3 separate regions of the Homo sapiens genome follow, and all the other regions are linked to region 2. The links are contacts of gene promoters, found by promoter capture Hi-C in human tissues and cell types (Jung and others, 2019). All regions are on one chromosome and are shown on one strand. Each heading gives the region's core, a stretch centred on a gene start or on the middle of the fragment in contact. The rest is flanking DNA. Distances are from core to core; before and after follow the strand shown.

Region 1 (2,700 bases), core at 164-2,663, 46 kb before region 2:
AAAAAAAAAAAAAAAATCAAACTTACATAAAGTACCTTCCTTCTTTCATAATAATATGCATTCTTCTCACTTAATGCAAATTGACCTCCTTCATAAAAAATTTCCAGCCAATTCAGATATTTTCACTCTTCTCTGAGTTTCTATAACCTTTGCTCTCTTTGTATCTGCTACATTTTAAGCTTAAACTCTTAAGGTTAAGCTTTGTATCTGCTATATTATAACCTTGACCTCTTAAGGTTACCTGGACTTGTATTACTGTTTAACTGCTTTGCATGTGTATGCTTTATCTTCCTAACAACATTGTAGATTTCTAGAAAGTGATCAGAAAATATCTCTGGTTGGAAGTCACTAAACCTTTCATACCACATGAAAATATAAAGTGACACTCAAGAAAAATTAAAACCACAGTAAATGTTTAAAGGCCACCATTTTTTTATTTTTTGTTTTTTTAATACCATTAAAGTTTTAGCATCTATTTTTGATGTGCTTAAATGAAAACCTGATTCTAAATCCTGTATTTAATCTTTTTAAAAATATGTATAGTGTTGAGTAGCAAGATTATTTCTCCAAATTTCATGTAAAGGTTCATGTCTTAGTGATATAAATATAAGTGCCTGTGTATATGGCTGGAGCAGGAGCTTTGAGGCGTTTTAGAGAAAATGAATTCTGTGCTTGGTAGAAGCATGCCAAATTTAGATTAGACTCCACTGTCTGCACCCTTTCTCTCATTTCCACTTTTTTTTTTTTTTTTTTTGAGAAGGAGTCTTGCTCTGTCGCCTAGGCTGGAGTGCAGTGGCAGAATCTCGGCTCACTGCAACCTCTGCCTCCTGGGTTCAAGTGATTCTCCTGCCTCAGCCTCCTGAGTAGCTGGGATTACAGGCACACACTATCACGCCTGGCTAATTTTTGTATTTTTAGTAGAGGCAGGGTTTCACCATGTTGGCAAGGCTGATCTCGAACTCCTGACCTCAAGTGATCTGCCTGTCTCGGCCTCCCAAAGTGCTGGGATTACAGGCATGAGCCACTGAGCCCAGGCTCCACGTCATTTTTTGTTAGACATTTGGATGCATAATCTATTACACTAGGCTCTGAACATTAAGCCAAAATGGTACAGTCTGTGTTTCTGGGAATGTGTGCAATGTTAAAGAAACAGGCTCTAGTCCCAAACAGTCTGGGTTCAAATCTTGGCTCGGTCAGACACTTATTAGTTGTGTAACCTTGAACAAATTACTTTACTACTTAGTTTCTCATCTGTGAAATTGGATAGTACTGGCATCTACTTCCTTGGGTTGTTACGGGTAATTAATAGATAAAAAACCTAGAATAATGCCAAGGAAATAGTAAGCATTCCAACAGATGTTTTTTATTACTAAAATGTCCATTTTAATGTTTTAAGGGGTATGTTGTATGGTGTAGTGTAGGAGGACAAAGGAGCCTCTTAGTATAGAGAACATCATCTTACATGATAAATGTGAAATGATCAATAAGATAAATGCAGTGGGGTGTTTCCATACAATTGAAAACAATTCAATAGTTTTAGCTCAGTGGTTCTCACTTTAGTGTGCACCAGAATCACCTGGAGGGTTTGTAGAACCTTAGATTTCTGTGTTCTCCCCCATAAATTCTGATTCATTGGGTCAGGGACAGAGCCAAAGAATTTGTATTCTAACAAGTTCTAAGGGGATGCTGATGCTGCCAGTCAGGACCACATTTTGAGAATCACTTGTTTAGATCAGGGTTTCTCAACTTCGGTGTTACTGACATTTTGGACCACACCGTTCTTTGTTGCAGGGAGCTATCCTCTGCATTGTAGGATGTTAAGCAGTATCACTGGCCTCTCTACCCACTAGATGCCAATAGCACCTCCCTGCCCACCACCCACCGTGACAATCAAAAATATCTCCAGATATTGCCAAAGGTCCACTGGGGAGGCAAAACTGTTGGCCAGGTTCTGTGGCTCATGCCTGTAATCCAGCACTTTGGGAGGTTGAGGCAGGTGGATCACCTGAGGTCAGGAGTTCGAGACCAGCTTGGCTAACATGGTGAAACCTGTTTCTCTCTACTAAAAATACAAAATTAGCTGGGCATGGTGGCGGGTGCTATAATCCCAGCTACTCAGGAGGCTGAGGCAGGAGAATCAATTGAACCTAGGAGGTGGAGGTTGCAGTGAGCCAAGATAGTGCCATTGCACTCCAGCCTGGGTGACAGAGCAAGACTCCATTTCAAAAAAAAAAAACTGTCGAGAGCCACTGGCTTACAGGAATGAACTAGTAACATGAATCAATCTTTAAAAGTATAGTTTTAGGCCAGGTGCAGTGGCTCACGCATGTAATCCCAACACTTTGGGAGGCTGAGGCAGGAGGATTGCTTGAGCTCAGGAGTTCTAAACTAGTCTGGGCAACATAGCGAGACGTCATCTCTACTAAACATTTTAAAAATCAGTTGGGCATGGTAGTGCGTGCCTGTACTCCCAGCTACTAGGAAGGCTGAGGTGGGAGGATTGCTTGAGCCCGGGAAATCAAGAGATCAAGGCTGCAGAGGGCCATGATCGTGCCACTGCACTCCAGCCTGGGTGATAGAGCAAGATCCTGTCTTATACACACACACACACACACACACACACACACACACACACACACACAAAATATAGCTTTTAGTTTAAAAAGCAAGCTACAAAAAAAGAGATACAGACAGCATATA
Region 2 (2,700 bases), core at 8-2,507:
TCAAATTACAGTTTCTGACTCCAGAGCCAGTGGTCTCTCCACTTCCCCTAGTTGCCTCTCTACAAATAATCACGTATGGGTCTCTTTAACACATTTCTTCCTGTTCTTCTAGGAATTGTAGCCATATCCTAGCCCTAAATGAACTGGAATACAGTGAGGCTTGATTTATTATTAAACATTTTTATTAGACTTTTTTTTTTTTTCGAGAAGGACTCTCGCTCTGTTGCCCAGGCTGGAGTGCAGTGGTGCGATCTCCGTTCACTGCAAGCTCTGCCTCCTGGGTTCAGGCCAGTCTCTTGCCTCAGCCTCCCGAGTAGCTGGGACTACAGGCGCCCGCCACCACGCCTGGCTATTTTTTTTTTTTTTTGTATTTTTAGTAAAGACGGGGTTTCACCGTGTTAGCCAGGATGGTCTCGATATCCTGACCTCGTGATCTGCCCGCCTCGACCTCCCAAAGGGCTGGGATTACAGGCATGAGCCACCGCTTCCAGTCTTACTAGACTATTTTTAAGAACAGTTTTAGGTTCACAGCAAAATTGAGCTAAAGGTACAGAGATTTCCCATGTACCCCCTGCTCCCACACATGCATAGCCTCCCCCATTATCAACATCCCCCACCAGAGTGCCACAGTTGCTACAATTGATGAACCCACATTGACACCTCATAATCACCCAAAGTCTATAGTTTACATTGCGGTTCACTCTTGGTTTTGTACATTCTTTGGGCTTGGACAAAGGCATCCGCTATTACAGAATCATACGCATAGTAGTTTCACTGCCCTAAAAATCCTCTGTGCTCCCGCAAGTCTAGGTTTTTAAGGGCGAAAAGAGAGGGAAAGAAAAAAGTGTGCATTGCAGAGGCTCGACCCAACTCCAAGCCAAGTTTGTTCCAAAGTTCAGCAGCTCCCAGCTGTCCCATCTCTCCCAGTTCGGCCCCGGTCGGGTTCCTCCTCTTTTTGTTTAAGTGTCAAACAAATGGGTTTCCTGTTGACACTGGAATATCGTGAAAAGGCAGGAAGAGGCCAGGCCACCTCCTCTTTCCCCTCTTCCTATCCCGTTTATTTATTTTGCACACGTTTGTTTGGGTCGAGCTGGTGTTTCCAGCGTGTGTGGCTGTGGGGCGGCCTTAGGGGCCGATAACCCCTCCCTGAGGAGGCGAGGCCAGCCCCGAACCCGCCCGATCCGCGGTGGAGCTCTACGGGGCGGGGAAGGCAAAGAGGAAGGGGGAAGAGAGCGGGAGTGGGAGTGGGAAAGGCCAGGGATTAAGAGGCCGCCGGGACGCCGCAAGGAGGCGGGGAATCGGCTCGGCCCGCGCCCTGCCGCTGCCCGGCCGGCTGCAGGTGGAGTTCGCGGAGGTGGCCATTTCCACAGCCGCCGCCGACGCCTCCTCTCCGGGAGCCGCCTTCCCCCCGGCCCGAGGGCGGTGGCGTGGGGCGCCGGGTGCAGGCGTTCTGGGGCGCCGGGGCCGCAGCTCGCTGGCCATCCCGCGGCTGCGCCCCGCGCCTCGCCCATGGCTGAGGGCCGGCGGCGGGAGGACGAGGAGGAAGAGCTACGCGAGCGCCGCGAACTTGGTGGCCAGCGCCGCGCCCGGGGCCGTGCGCTCTCGGGCCACTCGGCCGCAGGTGAGAGGCGCGGGGGACGGGGCGGCGGGGACCCAGAGCTGCGCGCTCTGGGGCCGCTCGGGTCCTGCCCCACACAGCGGCAGCTCCTTCACGCGCCGGGATGGGACCGGCTTCTTTAACTCTCAGAGGCCAGACTCGGGGAGGGTGGCATTTCCATCGCCATCCTCACTTTCCGGCCGAGCCCGAGGAAATTCAGACCCGTCTTTAACTGCTAGTGGTCGTACAGCTGAAACTCAAATTTTCCGTGCACACTAAATCCAGGAGCTGCTGGCTTGGGACTTGTGGCCTGGTTGATGACTTATCTCTGGATGAGTCAGAGGTCAATGGCCGTCTCGGTGGACAACGACACCTTCCGAGGGGTTTGCCTGCGCCGCCGCAGCCAGGTCAGAGCACGTGCTCATAACTGAGGCAAGTCCTGTTTCGGCGTCCCTTGCACTTCGGACCTGTGACCCCCCTCCCTCCCTCCCCCAGCCGCCGAGCTCACCAGTTTTCTGTAGGACTTGTTTTCGTTAGTTGTGAGACCCTCCCCCACGCAAAGAGAAGTCCAGAATATAGCATTCCAAAAGGCCATTCATTTGGGCTGAGAATCATTTTCGGGCCTGTAATTACTTTTATGATACTGTGTTTTGGGTACACAAAAGCGGCACGGATCAAATAGTTTGGCACATTAGTGAAAGAGTGAATAAGTGTAGATCCACACCCCTTCCCTCTTCCGGGCGGCTTTTCAATCAAACATAATAGAGAGGACATTCTTTGGCCTTTGGTTCCAACTGGGTAATCCGAGTTATCTGAAAACAAGAGGGAAGAACAAACCTAGGGGGACTGGCAACAAAAGGGAGATAGGGAAGTGAGAGAGTCGGAGGAGAACGATTCACTGAGAGCCTCATTATAAAGTGGAATATAGCGAATATTCCATGAAGTGGAGAAGCTTTTCTGTGTGACTCCCTTAACCACTAAGAGAAAGTTGGAAAAATAGAGAAGATATTGTATCTGTGCGGAACAAATGGAGGGTAGAAAGTAGGATGAAAGGAAAACTTGAGAAGAACATCTTGAAGAAATAGTCAATTTAATGCCTTTGG
Region 3 (2,843 bases), core at 219-2,718, 34 kb after region 2:
AGAAACAAAGTTTTTTTTATAAAAGGATCCGTATCTTGTAAAAGACACAGATGCAATAAAACTTAAGTTCATTTAAATGAGAAATAAAGGATGACTTAAAGAAGTATGAATGGAATTATACCAGAAAATCTGTGGTGAAGATAATGATTGTAATTGAGTTCAAAAGTTAGCTCTGAGTTTCTGGCAGCCTAGGTATAGAAGGGAATAGGATAGGTTGTGTGATTGTTTAACAAAGGAAGCATGGGATATAATGCTCTTTTCTATAATGTCCTTTGTTCCAAATATTTAAAGTGTTTTTTTATAGATGTGAAGTTAAACCACTTAGATAGGTCCAGATTGTTGAAACCCAAGACCTCAGCTCTTGAGATCATAGCATTAATCCATTGTTCGTAGTAGGTCACACTGGTATTTTAAAAAGTAAAAACTTAAGAAAAATATAGGGCTGAACTACATATATGCATTTCCTTCCTTCTTTTCTTTTCCTTTTTTTTTTTTAAAGACAGGGTCTTGCTCTGTTGCCCAGTCTGGAGTGCAGTGATGTGATCATAGCTCACTGCAGCCTCGAACTCCTGGTCTCAAGCTATCCTTCCACCACAGCTTCCCAAGTAGCTGAGACCACAGGCACATGCCACCATTCTTGGCTAATTTCTTATTTCTTTTGTAGAGACAGGGGCTGTGTTGCCCAGGCTGGTCTTCATCCCCTGGCCACAAGTGATCCTTGGCCTCCCAAAGTGTTGGGATTACAGGTGTGAGCCAACATGCCTGACCCATGTTTGCATCTCTTTTTTTTTCTTCTTTTTTTACTGCTCCTTATGGAACAGGGCTAGCTAATCTGTAGGCAGTGTGCTTGGAATTGGCTTTATATGAATTTTTTATTAGCCCTCTTGTTACAGTTGAGGAGTAAAGGGAGGGTTAGAAGGGAAGTTAAAGATAATAGAGAAGGTGAGAAATAATAGACTAAAATCCCATGATGCAACCCATGGGCACGAGGTAGACCCTTATTATATTTTCCTGTGTCATCACAGATACTTGCCTGCCTCTGTAGTAGCTATTTAATTTGTGTCTACAAATACTTATTCATAGAGGACATCTTCCTGCCTTGGAAGACACATTAGTCTTATAGCTATTTAATTTGTGTCTACAAATGCTTATTCATAGAGGACATCCTTCCTGTCTTGGAAGATGCATTAGTCAAGGACAAAGAATGTACAGAAGTGACAGTTTTATTTCTTAACTCTTCACATTCCAACCCCAAAACTTCCAAAATCAAAAACCTTAAAAACAAAATCATTTCAAATTGTAAATAAAGTCACCCAGGGTTAGCAGTGGCTCTCCTGTGAGTTATCTGCCCCTGGGACTAAATCTCCATGCATTCTCTTCCCAGCCCTGTATGCAAGCAACAGCTTCAGCTACAGTGCCTACTCTGTGTATAGTGTTAGGTCCAAAGGCACAGGAGGGACGCAGGAGAGCCAGAGAGAGTAGGACAATAGGGAACAAGAAGTCAGAGAAGTCTAGATTGTTGGCTCTTGAAATAGTGGCATTAATCCATTTTTGGTAGTAGATTACATTGGTGTAGACTCCAGGAAGAGATTTACCACATTCTAATCCCCAGCTTACTACTCCTGTCTGGATCCATACACCATCAATGTGACACGACAGAGGCCCTCCAGAATCACCCTAAGGAAGAAATGAAAGGTAATGAGCATAGTGAAAAGAGGCATAAAGAAGAGAGTAGTAATAAGGGGTGGAGAATTCTTTAAAACTGGGCCATGAGACCCATGGAGCTGTGGAACCCTGCAGGGGGCTGGACTAATCACTGCTTTAGGGAGATATCACAGGAATTTTAGAATCATAGAATTGAAATTGTCAGAGACCTTAGTGAAATATATTAGTAATTTCAAAATATTTGTCTGTGATAAAAAGAGAAATAAAACTAATGAGATGATTTTTTCACTAAAGATAAATTTATTCAAATGAATGAACTGCCTTAATTTCCTGTTCTTACTGCTCTTGTTTAGTGTTAAGTAATCCATTCTTACCTAAAATGATAGTGATAGTTGTTGGTAGTAGTCTTCTAGTCTTGTTCTCTTTCTTTTTTGTAACAGCTTTACTGTCATATAATTCACATACTACACAATTCAGTGGTTTTTAGTATATTTACAGTGTTGTACAACCATCACCACAACCCATTTTAGAACATTTTTATCACCCTAAAAAGAAACCTCATACCCATTTGTAATTATCCCCATTTCTTCCCAACCCTCCCAGCTAGGCCAACCAGTAGTCCACTCTCTGCCTCTATGGATTTGCCTATTTTAGACATTTCATATAAATGGAATCATGTAATATCTGACCTTTTGTGTCTGGCATGTTTCAGTTAGCACATTCTTTTCAAGGTTCCTTCATGTTGTATCAGTACTCCACTCCTTTTAGGGCTGAATAATATTCCATTGTATGGATGTACCACTTGGTGTTTCTGCATTCATCACCTAATGGACATTGTGATTGCTTCCATTATTTGGGCTATTATATTATAAATAATGCTTCTATGGCCCAGCATGATGGTTCGTGTCTGTAATCCTAGTGCCTTGAGAGGCCAAGGCAGGAGGATCAGGCCAGGCATTTGAGACCAACCTGGGCAACCTAGTGGAACCCTGTCTCTTCAAAACAAATAAATAAGTAAATAGCTGCTATGGTGGCATATGCCTGTCATCCCAACCACTCGGGAAGCTGAGGCAGAAGTATTGCTTGAGCCATGTTTACAATGAACTATGATCCTACCACTGCACTTCAACCTGGGTGACAGAGCAAGACCCTGTTTCTAAAATAATAATCATGCTGCT

What was found. Contacts are between HindIII fragments. The study calls those that stand out against the background at their distance.
Region 1: a fragment that was not itself captured here is called in contact with the fragment with the promoter of SH3D19 in region 2 in 1 of the 25 tissues and cell types used here (psoas muscle).
Region 3: a fragment that was not itself captured here is called in contact with the fragment with the promoter of SH3D19 in region 2 in 2 of the 25 tissues and cell types used here (neural progenitor cells and ovary).

Annotation. Positions count from the first base shown.
Region 1 is chr4:151,369,919-151,372,618 of GRCh38, reverse strand. No RefSeq gene overlaps it. Among named protein-coding and RNA genes, the nearest start is that of FHIP1A-DT, 38 kb to the left of the region's middle. The HindIII fragment of the contact is 3,439 bases long and covers 1-2,700 here.
Region 2 is chr4:151,324,162-151,326,861 of GRCh38, reverse strand. SH3D19 (SH3 domain containing 19) reads left to right here and starts at 1,257. Exons shown (of 20, transcript NM_001378122.1): 1 at 1,257-1,621. The coding sequence starts at 1,510. The HindIII fragment of the contact is 31,894 bases long and covers 1-2,700 here.
Region 3 is chr4:151,289,952-151,292,794 of GRCh38, reverse strand. The region is part of intron 1 of SH3D19 (SH3 domain containing 19); the gene reads left to right. PRSS48 (serine protease 48) reads right to left here. Exons shown (of 5, transcript NM_183375.5): 5 at 933-1,677. The coding sequence ends at 1,342. Among named protein-coding and RNA genes, the nearest start is that of PRSS48, 14 kb to the right of the region's middle. The HindIII fragment of the contact is 9,272 bases long and covers 1-2,843 here.